2 separate regions of the Homo sapiens genome follow, and region 1 is linked to region 2. Evidence: promoter capture Hi-C in 16 types of primary human blood cells and fetal thymus (Javierre and others, 2016). All regions are on one chromosome and are shown on one strand. Each heading gives the region's core, a stretch centred on a gene start or on the middle of the fragment in contact. The rest is flanking DNA. Distances are from core to core; before and after follow the strand shown. Region 1 overlaps VCF1 (VCP nuclear cofactor family member 1). Region 2 holds the start of MAP2K6 (mitogen-activated protein kinase kinase 6).

Region 1 (4,298 bases), core at 1,334-3,833, 3.8 Mb before region 2:
ACTTAAGCTGGGATCCATACTCATTATTAAAGTTAGACCTATTCAGAATGTTGCAGAGTACAGAGAAGTGAGCTTAGGGTGATCATTTATTTTCTCTAATATTCAAACCTCAACTCAAAACCTTTAGGATTAAAGGCCTGCCACTGTAAGCCACCCTACTCTCATAGAAAGTGTATAATTATTTAGAAGACACTATATCCTCCAAATGTACATGCTTTCCAAGAGCTGTGTGTCCACACTAGCCTTTTGTCTCTTAACTATAGAAAGCTGAAACTTCAAGGGTTTTGTAATAGGTGCTGCTGCCATGTACATACAGACCTCTAGCCTGTGCTGCTCCGGAGAACGTTCTGCAGTGACGGAAATGTCCTTTATCTGTGCTGGTCAGTGCAGTAGCCACTAGCTACACGTGGCCACTGAGCACTAGAAACAGGGCAGCTGTGACCTAGGAACTGGATGGTTAATTTTAGTTAATTTAAATGTAAATAACCATATGTGGCTAGTGGCTACCGTATTGGACAGTACAGTTCCGGGCAATTTGACTGAAAATTATACCTCCTTTAATTTATTTCTGTTTTCTAACAGGTTCAGAAATCGTTTTGACAGCACATAATTCTTAAATAGAGTACATGCAAATTTGGTCTTTCTTGCATGTCCGAGAACACTTGCCTAAGAAAGATGTGTGATTTTTCTTTAAACCTGGAAATTTTAAGCAGCTTATGCTATCATCTCATAGTAACAATCTAGTGAAGTAATTGTTATATCATAATACCGGCTAGTGTTGCCAGAATAAGCAGGTGAATGTGACCAAGAGGTACTTTTATAAGGGTTTTCAGGGCAAATAGGCAAAGGCAGCCACTCTTATATCAAATGTTGTCATATGGAAGGGAGTACAATTAGGTAACTCGGAATCCTAATTTCAGGGAGTGTAAAAAGAAGAAAACCTTAATTAGGTTAGAGGTTGAAAGCTTAGTCATTAACCTCTTCCTGTTCTTGTTTCAGTCCCAACAGACATTTAAAATTGTTAAGCTTCTTTTTAGAAATGAGTTTTACTAACTTAAGCTTGACCTCGCTGCTGCTGTCTTGTATTTTTGCTCTTAGTGTCCAGTGATGCTGTACTTCCAACTGATAACCTATTGGGATATCATATGCTGAATTATGTTTTCTCAGGCCAGAGGGCAAATTTATATGTTGTTATGGTTTGCAATTCAAGTGTCCAAAACATCGGTTGTTTGGGTTTTTTTTTTTTTCTCCTTGTGATTTAATTTCAGGAAAAGGAGAAGGAATGGCAACGAAGAAGACAACCATCTTCCCCCCCAGACCAAAAGAAGTAGCAGAAACCCTGTCTTTCAGGATTCCTGGGACACAGAGGTAGGAAGTGTGGTCACATAGTCTGTTGTTTTCACTGCTTGAGTTAAATAACCTAGTATCTGCTGTGTAATTAAATTTACTTAAACAGTAATTTAAAATGACCTTAGTTGATTATACTGGTTTAACCTTTCTGTTTCCAAATCAGGGTCCCTTTGAGGAAGCTGTGTACCCTGTCCCCAGCAAAACAGTACATATGTGCACATAGTCATATATGTACACACTCATTTGTATTTGTTAGAAATTTCGTGGCTTTTTGAAAGCCTATGTTTGAACTCACTGTTTTGTATTTCAGCAGCGAACTTCTTTTCTGGTAGTTTATAAACCATGAATTGTCCTTAAGATAAACATATTTTGTTGCTTCAATTCAAATGCCTTTTAAGAGAAACTTTAAGCATGTAAAATATGTAAGGTATGTGTATGCAGAATCCCATTTCTCAGTGTTTTTACTTTTCATTATCTTGTTGTGAAAAGAGCTCCTGTGGTGAGAGGGAAGGGGAGTTGGGTGTTCTGGAACTTTTTTACAATTTTTGATTTCATGAAAGAGTGCTTCAGTACGCAGACTGAGGATACATTTTCTGTGCAATTGGAAGGCTGCTCTGTGCTGGGGAAAGGAAACCAATATAAAGTAATGCTGCTATTAAGTTATGCACCTAGAGATTTTGACCCTTAACAGTTGTCACACTAAGAGAAAAGCCTCAACAACAAAGAGCCCTAGCCTCATAACTCACAGTAGAATTCTCCCACACCCAAATAATTTGTACTTTAATTAGTTCCTGATAATAGGATTTGACCTATATCCAGTCTGTCTTTGCCAGCAATTCAAAGTAACTCCCCCAAGGGGGAAAAATCAGGAACTTTCATGTAGGTAACAGTCATTCAGAGACAGTGAACAAGTGCAGAGTAGAATCCTTCTGTGTGGAGACCTGAGTTTCTATAGCTGTTTTTCCTCTTCAAATATTTTCCTGGCCGAGCGCAGTGGCTCATCCCTATAATCCCAGCCCTTTGGTAGGCCAAGGTGGGCAGATCACGAGGTCAGGAGTTCGAGACCAGCCTGGCCAACATGGTGAAACCCCATCTCTACTAAAAATACAAAAAATTAGCTGGGTGTGGTGGTGCACGCCTGTAATCCCAGCTACTTGGGAGGCTGAGGTGGGAGAATGGCTTGAACCCAGGAGGCAGAGGTTGCAGTGAGCTGAGATCGTGCCGTTTTACTCCAGCCTGGGCAACAGAGCAAGACTCCGTTTCAGAAAAAAAAAAAAAAAAAATATATATATATATATATTATATATATATATATTTTTTTCCTATTTGCTTTTTTCTTTTCTTTTTAAAAAATGATTATCAGAAAGGTAATTGAGCTTTGTTTAATGTAATAGTTGGGAATCTCAGGGATGAAAGAAAACAAGATTAGAGGCTACCATGAATATCTAATGATAAAACCCTGTAATAGTAATTGAGTTTCCATTCTTTTGAATTGTAAGACTATTCATTAAAAGAGTATGCAAAGATTACTTCTATGGTGTTGGCCATCAGTATTTCCTTACTTGTGTCTGTATGTAAGTCCTGCTATATGATGTTCATTTCAGTCAAGGGTATGGTAGGTCTAACTCTCTGTATTAACGTTTTTTTCCCGTATCTGCCAGTTTTGAAGCCTGAGAACAGCAATAGAAATTGCCATCTTTTTCTTGCTTTTGTCTCTTGGTTAAAAAAAAAGAAAGAAATTGTCATCCTTTTTTAAAAAAATTAACATTTCTGATCTCTTAAGTAAGGCAGATATTGTAGATTTTTAAATTTTATTTATTTATTTATTTAGTTTTTGGTACAAAATGACCTTTACTCTCTTTCTAAAATCCGTGCATTGGTCTCACAGAAGAAAACAACGTCTTGTTACTCAACCTCCTGGGTTCTCTAGCTGAGCTTGTCCTTACTTGTCCAAAGAAATTCAGTTGTTGAGCCACTCCGTAATCATTATCTGAAGGAAGGACTAGATTGTCTTCCTTATCGTTTAAGGTCATTACTGGTAGTTTCTGTCTGAACTCACTGGTAGATCACCTAATGGGGTGTTACAACCATTAGTTTCAGCCTTGCTTACTGAACATTGACCAGAATAGCCTGCTGTGCCGTCCTGTGCTGTCCTGTCCTGTCCTATCCTATGCTGTCCTGTCCTGTCCTGTGCTGTGCTGTGCTGTGCTGTGCTGTGCTGTCCTGTCCTGTGCTGTGCTGTGCTGTGCTGTCCTGTCCTGTCCTGTCCTGTCCTGTCCTGTCCTGTCCTGTCCTGTGCTGTGCTGTCCTGTCCTGTGCTGTCCTGTCCTGTCCTGTCCTGTGCTGTGCTGTGCTGTGCTGCGCTGTGCTTCCTGGCAGTGGTATTAACAAGTAACAAGGACAAGTGAATGATGAGAGAGCCAGAGAAGCAAAAGGCAGAGGGAATATCTTTTAAAATGGAAAGTTAAGCCCCAAATAATGAAGTTTTCACTACTGGAATAAATGATTATGTTTGTAGCAGCAAAAAATCAAGTTTAGGGACATTTGGCTGGTTTTTGATGATTGTGTATAAAAGGGAAAATAAAACAATTCATTTTTAATTATATTAACAATTTAGACAAAATATTTTATTAATAACATTACTAATGAAAATGTTTTCTTTTAATTCTGAGGTAGGGCCATGAGGTCAGTTTCCTTGAAACTTAAGTTATGTAAGAGAAACCATTTCCTATGTTTTCCCTGAATGAATAAGCTTTGTCACCCAGACTGGAGTGCAGTGGTGTGATCTCAGCTCACTGCAACCTCTACCTCCCAGGCTCAAGCAATACTCCTACATCAGCCTCCCAAGTAGCTGGAACTACAGGCACATGCTACCATGCTGGGTTAATTTTTTAAGGTTTTTTTTTTTTTTTTTTTTTTGGAGAGACGACGTCTCACTATATGGCCCA
Region 2 (4,254 bases), core at 414-2,913:
CAGCACTCTTAACTTTTCAGATTTCCATTCTCCCCTAATACTCAAAGAAAAGCAGAGTGCTACTTTGAATGCTTGAGATTACTACTTCCTTCTTGGGCTGCTGAGATATATGACTCCCATCAGGTAGAATTAAAAAGCGGTGCAACAACTCCCCACACTCCCTCCCAAAAAAGTAGCAAAAAGCTTGTTAGACCCTTTAATTTCACCATGTCTTACTCAAAGAGTGCCCCGGGTAGCCTAATTCAATAGTATCTAACACCTCTCTTCATCATCCCATACTTCTCATATGGCATATGCTTTCTCTATGGTAAAGAAACAATTGTTCTGAAACAAGTGACTTGGGGTCCCAGGGGCACCTGACAGCACCTAGTCTGCTCTTTGATGTCATATCAGGAATTTTTTAAATCCCCTTCCCAGGGTGACATTAAGCCTGCAAAATACAACTGTGTTTAAAAACAAAAATTAAGAAAAGAAAATAAAAGAACATAAAGAAAACAACCATAACGTGAACTTCCAACCTATTACAGCTGACTAAATACACGCAGTTACACACTTAAAATATTTCATTATGCTTGTCAATGAAACAGTGCAGTCCCTTCACACTACTGTAATGCTTAAAAGTACAGTTTTACCCCCAATATTTTCCCCCAAGATGCAAAGCATCCCCCAAATGGGCAGACATAAAACATTAGGTCTTCACTGCTGCTTCTAAATTTTGCGAGCCAATAAGCAATTGGTGTAAAGTGCAAAATCTCAGAAGAGCAAGACTCGTCTGCTTTTTTGTGATATGCTGTTATTCACCCTTCACCTTTACTTCCTTTAAAAATCAAAAGTTACCTAATGTTCAAGGCGATATCAATGGAAATTTAGCTAAATACTGGCACCGCAACGGTCTATTTCCCCCAAAGAATATAAGATTACATTAATTTCCTAGTAGTTTAACTCAAGTTTTACCTTTCATCTTCACCTATAGAGTTTTTAAAAGTTTCTATTCCTGTTGCATACAAAATTACTTACAATATCTGTGCATAGTAAAGAATTTTACAATTATATAAAGCCTTGCACATTTAGACGCTACCAACCTGCTCTGTCTCTCCTGACTGTGCAAAAGGCAAAAAGAGCTCAGTAATCCTAGCAGAAGAATGCAAATAACGTCAATGCACAGCTGAACTGCAAGCCCTGCCTTACAGGAACTCTCTGTGTCTGCAAAAAAAGACACATACTAAACAGGAAATGCAACTGAGCTGTGGAAAACCTCAAACTTAAAAATGCACTCGCCAGGCGAAAATTGCATCCATGCATTCATAAATGCATGCACAACCCTTTGCATTTTTGCAACTAATGCAAACAGCCTCTTACCTTTCGACTGAGACATTTTCCCCTTTCCTTTGATGGGGGAGGGGAGCACAAAAGACTTTGCCTTGCTTCTCTTCTGTAGCTAGTTTTGCAACAAAGATGCAAGCTGCAGGCGTGCAATCTTCATGCAAGTGGAGTTTCTCTTGACCGATGCAGCAGATGGACTTTCAGGGAATCAAGATGGAAATGCACACCTTGCAAAACAGACTGGAAAGTGATTTTTCCCCCAGTTGCAACGTTAGGGAAGGCTGTGCTGCAGCTACATGATGGGCCAGGGCTGGCAGCTAAAAGCTCCAAACTTGGAACTGAGTATCTTAGTGCGCAGACGTCCTTCCTGCGAAGGGCGCGAAGGCCGCTGGGTAATGTAGTTCTCCGGCGGAGTCCACGGGGCTCTGATTTAAGGAAACGTGGTCGCCCCGGTCGCTGAGCGAGATAACTGGGTGCGACAAAGATTGCGTCCAGATAAACAAGTCAGACACACACTCAGTAGAGTGATGGGTGAAAAGCGGCAAGGCCAAGACGGGGCGGCAGTTTTGTTCTCGAAAAGCCTCTGAAACAACAGCTAAAGAATATTAGGTTAGCTAAAGAGCTTTTGGCTTGTCGAGAAGGTCTGTTTGGGAGTTTAGTGTGTTGATTTTGCAGCTCAGCACCTGTTGTGCTGTTCTTGCCTGTAGACGTTTTACCCTCACACCTCCGTTTTTTGTTTGTTTGGGGGTTTTTTTGTTGTTGTTGTTGTTGTTTTTTTCCCGAGAGGGAGTCTCGCTCTGTCGCCCAGGCTGGAGTGCAGTGGCGCGATCTCTGCTCACTGCAACCTCCGCCTCCCGGGTTCAAGCAATTCTCCTGCCTTAGCCTCCCAAGTAGCTGGGATTACAGGTATGCGCCACCACGCCCGGCTAATTTTTAGTAGAGACGGGGTGTCAACATTTAGCCAGGCTGGTCTCGAACTCCTGACCTTATGATCCGCCCACCTCGGCCTCCCAAAGTGCTGGGATTACAGGCGTGAGCCACCGCGCCCGGCCACACCTCCATTTTTAAAAACATTTTTTCTAGTAAGAAAAATGTATGGATGATTGGGTTGGCTGGAGGTAAGGTTACCTTTGCTCTGTGGAGAAGATGCAAAGTTTTATTTTGTCAGAAACAATCCAGGTCAGTTATTTCCAAGGAACCCGAAACTCAGTAGGGGGTAGGTGTGGGGAAGAAGATTGGAGGCTTCTCATTTCTCACAGGGTTACAGAGGAAGTTCTGCTTTTTATACATCAACGCTAACTTTATCAAAATTAAGGTATCTAGATGATTTTTTCTCACCTGGGAGGAGAGTCCCTGGCCTAGGGGGAAAGTGGGTGGAAAATGAATACAGTCGAATATCTTGAATTTATTCATTAAAATTAAAAGATACTTGTTGAGTGTCCAGGATGTGCCAGGCGCCTTTCTAGGGCCCTGGGATGTTCATTCATTCTGTACCGCTCACACATAGTGGGTACACAGCACCCTGATGGAGAACGGCATCACCTTTTTCACAAGGAAGCCAGAGATGCTTAGCACAATTCACTGCAAGGAATGGAGAGGAGTGAGCAGGGCATGGGCAAAAATGAGCTCGGACTTATACTTCATGGAGCAGACAGACTCAGAAATGTTCTTTTAAGACAGAGGGAGGAATTGAGGAATTCAAGGAGGTGTGGACAAAGCACTGTGGCAGAAATAAGGACAACCTTACTCAGAAGCTGCCAAGGAGACCTTGTTGCCTTGTGTGCAGGAGTGGTGAGGGCGGGGGAGATTTACAGGTGAGGACTCCACAGGGCCTTAAAAGGTGGGCTAGAGGTTTGGACTTTATTCTGCAGGTACTTGCGGGGAGGTGAAAGGGTCTTGCAAAGGGGCGTAACTTAATCCAAGCATTGTTTTAAGAAAGTAAATTTGCCCTCAGCAATCAAGGTGGGTTGGAACTGGGAGAGGCTAGAGATAGGTTAGGTCAGTAGTGAAAGGCAAAAAGAGGCACTTTGAAAGAAGATTCAGCTAGATTTGATGATTACTAATGAAAACTATTGGAATTGTATTTAGGATGCTGGAAGCCAGGACCATCTGCATAAGGGATGCATTAGAGGGAAGGAAGCCGTCTTATTTCAGCTGCAAACCAGCAAATCAAATCTTAAATATGCAATAGGTTGTGAGACTAACATTAATTTACTTAAGTTGGTCCCCTTTACTGACATTCTTGACAATTAGTGAAGGCAATCTAATCTCCATATTAGCTTCTGCCCCTAAGAGGAAGGCATTGCTGGTCTGTGAACACAGGTGCAAGGACTTTCTAACTCTTTTATTGTCCTTCTAGGCTAATCCATGTTGTCCCTTCCCTCCTATCGTATACACACAAGCTCAGCACCCCCTCAAACCAGCATGGTTTCCTAAGTCTCATTTAACCAGGAGACACGTGTGAAAATCTAGTTCACTTTCCCAAACACTGATGGAGCCAGGCCCTGGGATAGCTGCTGGAGCTTTCTGTAAACTGGCTTAGCCCAGGCAGGGCCTGAACAGCCACCTAGAGCTTGCTTCAATTTGCATTTTATGTGGTCAGCTGCATTGCTCTTAAGTAGCCCCAGACTCCCTTCTTTATGGAAGAGTTCTAATCACAACTTGTCTGGTGCATTTTGCCACTGTCATTACTGCTCTTACTTTCTCTGCATAGGCGTGCGGAGTCCACAGCTGGCAAATGGATTGTAGCTTGAAAGTCAATCTGCAATTCATTTTCCCATAGCACCAACAATATGTTCAGCAGCTAATATACACACACAAGCACACATGCATACACAAAACACCTCTCATCCATAAATTGGCTGAATCATCCGTTTAAAAATAGCAAAATTTTGTATCATATTTCTTTCTGGGAAAAATGTATCCTGAATT

Evidence for each region. The method cuts DNA at HindIII sites, captures the fragments that hold promoters and counts their contacts. A CHiCAGO score of 5 or more calls a contact.
Region 1: a contact is called between a fragment that was not itself captured here and the fragment with the promoter of MAP2K6 in region 2, in 1 of 17 cell types (total CD4 T cells). The highest score is 7.5, in total CD4 T cells.

The regions. Positions count from the first base shown.
Region 1 is chr17:73,224,235-73,228,532 of GRCh38, reverse strand. It overlaps VCF1 (VCP nuclear cofactor family member 1), which reads left to right. Exons shown (of 4, transcript NM_001098832.2): 2 at 1,269-1,368. Among named protein-coding and RNA genes, the nearest start is that of VCF1, 6.0 kb to the left of the region's middle. The HindIII fragment of the contact is 3,043 bases long and covers 1,062-4,104 here.
Region 2 is chr17:69,412,106-69,416,359 of GRCh38, reverse strand. MAP2K6 (mitogen-activated protein kinase kinase 6) reads right to left here and starts at 1,663. Exons shown (of 12, transcript NM_002758.4): 1 at 1,360-1,663. The coding sequence starts at 1,375. The HindIII fragment of the contact is 8,167 bases long and covers 186-4,254 here.